3 separate regions of the Homo sapiens genome follow, and all the other regions are linked to region 1. Evidence: promoter capture Hi-C in human tissues and cell types (Jung and others, 2019). All regions are on one chromosome and are shown on one strand. The core of a region is centred on a gene start or on the middle of the fragment in contact, and the rest is flanking DNA. Distances in the headings are between cores, read along the strand shown.

Region 1 (2,724 bases), core at 61-2,560:
CAACTGATGAAAACAGGAAGCTCTATTCATAAATATAAAATTCACTGCCTATGATATATAATCATCCTAATAAGAAAATGAGTTCTATACATACTTGTCCAAAGGGGCAAAAAAGGAGATAGTTTCCCAAAGATGTTTCCAATTTTCTTCTGAATCAGAATTAGCAAATCGAGACGACTAACATACTCTGTCTGTGGGCATTATTCCTTACTACACACAGCATTTTGTAATTTATTTCAAAGCTTCCATTAGAAACAAAAAAATACATAGCTTCTGTTAACCCACTCTATTCTAAGCTCATAGAATCAAATACTGAACAATCTACATTATAACATAAGCATTTTACTTTATAGAAGATCTGCTATCAGAAACTCTATTAATGTCTAAACTACTTAAAGAACTATATAAACTGAATACACTTCAATGAAAGACAAAAAATATTACAATCATAAAGAAAACTAAGATTCATCCAATAAACTATATTACAATCCCTGTCATTCATTTTTTTAAGATCTTCAAACTAGGCATGAGATAATGGTATACATGAAACATTACATTTAATCTTTATTGTAAAGGCCGCCATCTAATAGATTGATAATAAACTAGACAGACGTGATTTAAAATTTGTAAAAGAATGCCCAGACTAACACTTTCATGACAGCCAATTATAGTCAAGCCTAGCAAGCAGTTTGCAACCAGACCTTAAGGTAAACTTTTTTTTTTTTTACAATGAGTTACAGATTCACAAGTTTAAGAAGACAAGAAAAAGGAAAACAGAAGGAATCCAGCCACCCAGCAAATATGAAGCAGACCCCAGAATGTGATACAGTCCAAAGATGTGAATTATTGTATATCATCACTGTTGTTCAGAATTTCACACAGACTCTTGAGCCAATTTTGTTCATTTTTCCACAGACACAATAATGAACTAAAAAGAGGAGGCAAAAAGGCAGAGGTTGAGCGGGGAGTAGAAAGGAAAGCCCTTAACTGCAGAGCTCTGCTCTACAAATGCTTAACCTTACAGGAGTTTGGGCTCCTTCAGCATTTGTATTCTATCCAAATCCTCATGAGTCACAAAAATTAAAAAGCTATATCCTTCTGGATGCCAGGAAAGGCCTTACCACAAGCCTTTTGTGAGAGAAAGAGAGAGAGAGAAAGAGCAAGGGGGAAAAGCCACAGTGGTAGGCAGTCCCACTTTACTTAAGAGTACTGTGAGGTCACAAACCACATGATTCTGCCTCTCCAGTAATAGTGCTTGCAAAAAAAAGGAGTTTTAAAGCTTTTGCTTTTTTGGATTGTGTGAATGCTTCATTCGCCTCACAAACAACCACAGAACCACAAGTGCGGTGCAAACTTTCTCCAGGAGGACAGCAAGAAGTCTCTGGTTTTTAAATGGTTAATCTCCGCAGGTCACTACCAGCCACCGAGACCAACAGAGTCAGTGAGTGCTCTCTAACCACAGTCTATGCAGTAATAGTAGGTCCTTCAAATATTTGCTCATTCTCTTTTTGTTTTGTTTCTTTGCTTTTCACATGTTACCAGCTACATAATTTCTTGACAGAAAAAAATAAATATAAAGTCTATGTACTCCAGGCATACTGTAAAACTAAAACAAGGTTTGGGTATGGTTTGTATTTTCAGTTTAAGGCTGCAAGCAGTATTTACAACAGAGGGTACAAGTTCTATCTGAAAAAAAAAGGAGGGACTATGGCATCAAACAGCCTCTTCAGCACAGTGACACCATGTCAGCAAAACTTCTTTTGGGGTAAGTGTTACCATTTTTAAAATCCTGTAAGATATGAACCTGTTAAACATAAAGGTATGATTCTTTGATAAACTGCTAGCTTTTCCAAATAGCATATTAAAGATCCTAATTATGCTATCTTGTTGCATTAAGAATTGAAAAATGAAATTTCTGTATATATTTGCATTTGGTATCTGTAATGTATCTAATTTTCAAAGTAATGACTTGAAATATACAAAATTAAATTATCTCACATTGATCAAAATGTTTTCTAGAGTTATAGAGGTGAGGATATGAAAACAGTAAAAGAAACAGTTTAATACTCTCATTAACCCTCACCAGAAGAAAAGTCAGATCCTAAATTAATCAAAGCATTATAAATTATTGACTCCGGCAGCTCCCAATATTTGAGCAAACTTCAAAAAGGAAGCAATTTTACAAAATAACAGACCACAGAATTATCTCAACATTATGGTCTACCATGTATAACACAGAAATAAACCTGTAGTACAGTTAACATTTTAACCAGCTCAACTAAAAGAAATCTACTTATAAATTCAAACTGTATCCTATCTAAATAAGTTTGTTTCTAAACAACTTTATATAAGTATACATTCAGCTGAAATAAAATTATGATAAGCACATCACAGCCATTTTTAAAAGATCTTTATAGTTGCCCAGGATATTAAAAAGTTCATGGAAGTATTTTAAAACTTACATGCAACTGCATTTTTCTATGTAATTTTAATTTTACATCTACACACTGTTATCCATAGACCTTGTTATAAACACACTGAAACACTGAAACGTCTAAGATTCTTTTAATCACATTCTTGGACCTACCAAAATGAATAACTGCTGTTTAGTCTCATGAAAAATAAAGCTCCATAAGGATACCCTGTATGATTTTTAAAAGCCACAACTATTAAACCATGCTGGACTTTAAAAGAAGTAGGCATAATCTTGTCCCTTAATATTTA
Region 2 (2,885 bases), core at 342-2,841, 210 kb before region 1:
TGAAAAGATCAGTATGTACTTGTAGAAGCTTACAATGAACATATAAAGTCTTTAAGTATACTGAAAATATTAGTGAAAACATACATCTCTGTATCTACCTACTACCACCCTGTACACGATTAAGATCTTCATAGGTACAAGCTCTGTGGTAGCAAATAAAAATATTAATAGGCAATACCAGGCAATTAATTATTTATAATAGTTAATATCAATAAAACAGTAATTAAGACCCTAGCTTAGAGCCTTCACAGAATCCTACAACTTTCAAACTCCTCTGTTTATTATATAAAAGTCTTTGACATCTGGCTTCTCTCTGGTTCCACCCTTATTTCTAGCCATGCACCATTTGTTCCTAAAATATCAAACTCCCTATGGACAGCTGACCACACAATAGGTTTCAGGTCTTCTCACTTTTGTACATGATATTTTCTCTGTCAAATAAGTCTTTGTTTCTTCTTCCATTCAGCCAATGCCTTCCAAACTTAGTTCGAGGGGTACGACCCTTGGGAAATTTTCCATAATACTCATTTGCTGCTCTAAGGCATATTGCACTGATTGCCCTAACTCACCTTTCACCTCATATTATATTCATTCCCATTGCCAAGTAACTTTAAGTAGCCCTGCACTATAACCCTGAGCTCAACCCTGTTATGTTCTTTGGCCAATGGGATATTATTAGCAGCAGAGGCTAAGAAGTGCTTAAGCATTTCAACTTGCACTCTTGCACTCTGCCACTGCCATGAAAGTATGACAAGGCTAATCTGCTGGAAAATTAGAGATACATGAAGCAGAGCTCAGTCACCCCAGTTATCGTAGTTGAGTTATCATAGATCAGCTGGCAGTCAGCTGACCCTCAGATAGATAACAGAGCACAGCTGAGATTGGTGGGGTTGTCTAATCTACTGTCATAGACATATAATCATAAATGCTGAGGTTTCACAATGTTTTGTTATGCAGCATTATTGTGGCAATAAATAACAAATCCCACTCCTAGATGCTTCCATAGCACTCTTCACAACCTCCTCATAGTATAGTTACATAGTTGTATAGTTATGTAGTTACATAGTCATACTTTTACATGAACTAATTTGTCTCTATTCTCCCCTATGCATTTAGAGGAAAATAATCACCTGTTATTTAAATTTGTATTCTGAGCACCTAAGAAGATGCCAGTTGTATGTGGGCACTCAATGTATGTCTAGGGAAGAGAAGGTATGAGGACGGATTCACCTCCCAACTGATTCCACTATTATCTCAGACCACAAGGAGCCTTCCCTATGTTGTGAAAGTTCAGTGGGCACACAAACTAGATACTGTTAGAGCAGATTAAAACCTTAAGCATATAGGCTTTAATATATGCTTATTATATGTATATAGCTGCCTGTTGGATGAGCACAGATGGCCACAAATTCATGTGATTTGTGGGCATAATGTTAACAGGAAAGAGTCAATAATTGCAGCACTTTGGACCAAATAAAGAGTGGAATTAGGTTATGCAGTAAAAGATGCCAGGGCAGAGAATCAAAGGGTGTATTCCTAGAAAACTTAAGATTTTCACATGTAGAAGGAAAAATGTTTGAAATTTCATTAAACTTGGTATGCATTTGGGGCCAAGTAAAAAATATTCAAAAAGGAACCAGATTAATGATTTATTTTTTTTAAAGGCAGCAAATACTTTTAAAAAAGAAAAGGAAAAAAATGAGTCTGAAAATATATACAATTTAGAATCTGTTTAATAATGATAGTTATGACAAAATGACAATGAGTCGATTATATCCATAATACATACTGAGGATTTACTGTTTGCTAGACACCACTGAACTGATTCAAATGTCAAAATGACTCTAAAAGGTAAGTACTATTACTATTGCTACTTCAAGACTTGAAGAGGTTAACTAAATTACCCAAGTAACATAGTTAATAAGTGGCAGAAACGAGATTCCAAATCCCATCAGTCTGACTGCAAACTAAAAAAAACAAAAAACAAACAAACAAAAACCCTCTAACTGCTCTATAATATTGTCTTTCATAGAAACTGAAGAGACTTCGGAAGTAATTTATTTCAGTTTCCACCACAATAAAGAAAATTTTAAAAGTGAAAAGACTATATAGGCTAGGCATGGTGGCTTCTGTTTATAATCCCAGGATTTTGGGAGGTCGAGGAGGGAGGGTCACTTGAGCACAAGAGTTTAAATCCAGTCTGGGTAACAGTGTGAGACCTTGTCTAAAAAAAAAAAAAAAAAAAAAAAAGACTATATAAGCATATATCCAAGTTAGGGTGACTGGAGTAGGATGATGATGATACTTTGATAAAATTGGAAATAACTTTTTGACAACCAGTGTGGTACATGCAGAAATGCAAACCAATATATAAATGCCACAATAGTTGAATTCAGAAGATTAAGAGGAAAACTAAAGAAGTTGAACAACAAATGATGTCTATATCAATAACCAAAAAAAGGAATCTATTAAAAGGCTGAACAAATTCTTCCAAGTCAAAAGCAAATAACTGGCTTCCTCTATTCATGCAAATAGCTGTTTGCCACATGAAATTTATCTTGCTTTTAGGTTTCAAGAATTAAGGGTAAATATTAAAGCTACAAACCTGGGGAACTCCATAGTGTCTTTATGCATAAATCACATAGAAATTTCTCAGGTTCTGAGATAAAGTTCAGGAATAATTGTACTAAACAATGCAAAAATTTCCCAAGGCTAAAATTTGAACAATATTAGAACAATAATATTAGAACAATAATAAGTATAGGTTAACTTCATCATACTATTAATAGATTATAATACAAATATTACACAGAGATTAAAATTGATACTTTGGAACAGGTTGATTATCTAGGTATGTAATTATTATTATATTCAGAGGGAAATAT
Region 3 (2,729 bases), core at 170-2,669, 250 kb before region 1:
CAGAAAAGAGAACCCAGAACAAATACATACATCTACAGTGAACTCACTTTCGAGAAAGATGCCAAGAACATACATTGGGCAAAGGACAGTCTCTTCAATAAACAGTTCTGGGAAAATTGGATATCCATATGCAGAAGAATGAAACTAGACCCACATCTCTTGCCATGTACAGAAGTCAAGTCAAAATGGATTAAAGACTTAAATCTAAGACCTCAAACTATGAAACTATTCATAGAACTCACTAGGAATACTCTATAGGGCATTGGACTGGACAAAGATTTCTTGAGTAATACCCCACCAGCATAGGCAATCAAAGTAAAAATGAACAAATGAGATTACATCAAATTGCAAAGCTTCTGCACAGCAAAGGAAACAATCAACAAAGTAAGAGACAACCCACAAAATGGGAGAAAATATTTGTAAACTATCCATCTCACAAGGGTTCAATAACCAGAATATATAAGGAGCTCAAACAATTCAATAGGAAAAAATCTAATAATCTGATTAAAACATGGGCAAAAGATCTGAAGAGACATTTCTCAAAAGAAGACAAACAGTACACAAGTATATGAAAAAGTGCTTTACAACTGATCGTCAGAGAAATGCAAATCAAAACTAAAATGAGGTAGTATCTCACCCCAGTTAAAATGGCTTTTATCCAAAAGGCAATAACAAATATTGGTGAGAATGTGGAGGAAAGGGAACTCTCATACATGTTGGTTTGAATGTAAATTAGTACAATCACTACGCAGAACAGTTTGGAGGTTCCTCAGAAATCTAAAAACAGAGCTACCATATGATCCAGATATACCTCTGCTAGGTATATCCCAGAAAAAAGGAAATCAATATATTGAAAAGATATCTGCATTCCCGTGTTTACTAGTCACAATAGTAAAGATTTGGAAGCAACATAAGTGTCCATCAACAGAAGAATGAATAAAGAAAATGTGGCATATACGCAATGAAGTACTATTCAGCCATTAAAAAAAAAAGATTCTGTTATTTGCAACAACATAGATGGAACTGGAGGTCATTAAGTGAAATAAGCCAGGCACACAAAAACCGACTTCACTTGTTCTCACTTATTTATGGAGGCTAAAAATTAAAACAATTGAACTCATGGACACAGAGAGTAGACAGATGGTTACCAGAGGCTGAGAAGGGAAATGAAGAAGTGGAGGTAAAGTGGGGATGGTTAATGGGTACAAAAAACAGAAAGAATAAATAAGGTCTAGTATGTGACAGCAGAACAGAGTGACTACAATCAATAATAATTTAACTATAGCTGTAAAAATAACTAAGAGTATAAATGGATTGCAGTAGAAAGCACAAATGCTTGAGGTGATGGATGCCTCATTTACCCTGATAAAATTACTATCCATTTTATGCCTGTATCAGAAAATCTCATATATCCCATATATATATGTACATATATACGTATATATGTACATATATATATACAACTATGTATCCACAAGAATTTAAAAATTAAGAAATTAAATGAATAAATAAACAAAACCTTCTCTCCTGAACAAAGCCAAAGAGAGTGAAATTGACAGAGAGAAAAACAATGCCTACATAATCTGGTCCCTATCTTACTTTTACATTTCAGCTCGTCCCATTTGATCCTTAACTCACTTCACTCCAGAAATACTGATATTTCTGTTTCTGGAGTACATTCCAATCTCAGTACCTTTATACTCCCTGTTAATACATGGTATTCTCCTTCACATTATTTAATTCTTTGCTCATGTATCATCTTCTCTGAGGTAATCTAACATTATTACTCCCAGTCCTTGTCCTAGATTATTTCCTTCATAGTAGTTAACACTATGTGATACTATTTATTCATTTACTTATTGTCCTTCTTGCATACCAAAATATAAGCTCCATTAGAGAAGAGACTTTCTTGTATATACCATTATATCCCCAGTACCTAAAACAATGGTTGCCACATTTATCAATAAGTCTTTGATGAGTGAATGAATGATAGAGCTCCTCTGTGGCTAGAAATCACCATCCAATCTAACTCTACGTCTTATATATACACTATAATTGTGGAAACAGGATTTTCTATCATATCTGAATCCACATACTTATACACCATTTAACAGGGTTCTACCTTAAGAGTGGCAATAAAAACACTGCAGTAGCTGCAGAATATTTTACTCTTGGGCCTGATAAAATATTGACAGAAACAATTCTAAAAGAACTGCCTGCTCAGCAATTTCAGCCAATTTTTGAGCCTGGAAAAAATAGGGGGAAAAAATCAAGTGAACTTTCACTCAGTTACATGAAAATGCAATGCATTAGTTTTATTTCATTTGGGCTTCTAAATAAAATAAGCAATTTAAATAAAGCCAATCAACTTGCAAATAAAGAAAGTGCCACATCTATGGCATTTTACACAAACTAGAAAATCTAGAGGAAATGGATAAATTCCTGGAAATACATAACCTCCCAATATTAAATCAGGAAGAAATTGAAACTCTGAACAGACCAATACTGAGTTCCAGAATTAAATCAGTAATAAAAAGCCTACCAACCAGAAAAAGCCCCAGACCAGACAGATTAACAGCTGAACTCTACCAGACATACAAAGAGTTGATATCAATTCTACTGAAACTATTCCAAAAAAATGAGGAAGAGGGACTCCTCCCTAACTCATTCTATGAAACTAGCATCACTCTGATGCCAAAAGCTGGCAAAGACACAACAACAACAACAAA

The links. Contacts are between HindIII fragments. The study calls those that stand out against the background at their distance.
Region 2: a fragment that was not itself captured here is called in contact with the fragment with the promoter of RUNX2 in region 1 in 1 of the 25 tissues and cell types used here (lymphoblastoid cells).
Region 3: a fragment that was not itself captured here is called in contact with the fragment with the promoter of RUNX2 in region 1 in 1 of the 25 tissues and cell types used here (mesenchymal stem cells).

Annotation. Positions count from the first base shown.
Region 1 is chr6:45,327,020-45,329,743 of GRCh38, forward strand. It overlaps RUNX2 (RUNX family transcription factor 2), which reads left to right and starts at 1,311. Exons shown (of 9, transcript NM_001024630.4): 1 at 1,311-1,441; 2 at 1,642-1,765. The coding sequence starts at 1,708. The region is part of intron 2 of SUPT3H (SPT3 homolog, SAGA and STAGA complex component); the gene reads right to left. RefSeq lists a cis regulatory region at 29-35, a promoter at 993-1,633 and an enhancer at 1,040-1,080. The HindIII fragment of the contact is 4,056 bases long and covers 1-2,724 here.
Region 2 is chr6:45,118,192-45,121,076 of GRCh38, forward strand. The region is part of intron 2 of SUPT3H (SPT3 homolog, SAGA and STAGA complex component); the gene reads right to left. Among named protein-coding and RNA genes, the nearest start is that of MIR586, 78 kb to the right of the region's middle. The HindIII fragment of the contact is 4,688 bases long and covers 1-2,885 here.
Region 3 is chr6:45,079,618-45,082,346 of GRCh38, forward strand. All of the region lies in intron 3 of SUPT3H (SPT3 homolog, SAGA and STAGA complex component), which reads right to left. Among named protein-coding and RNA genes, the nearest start is that of MIR586, 120 kb to the right of the region's middle. The HindIII fragment of the contact is 4,235 bases long and covers 1-2,729 here.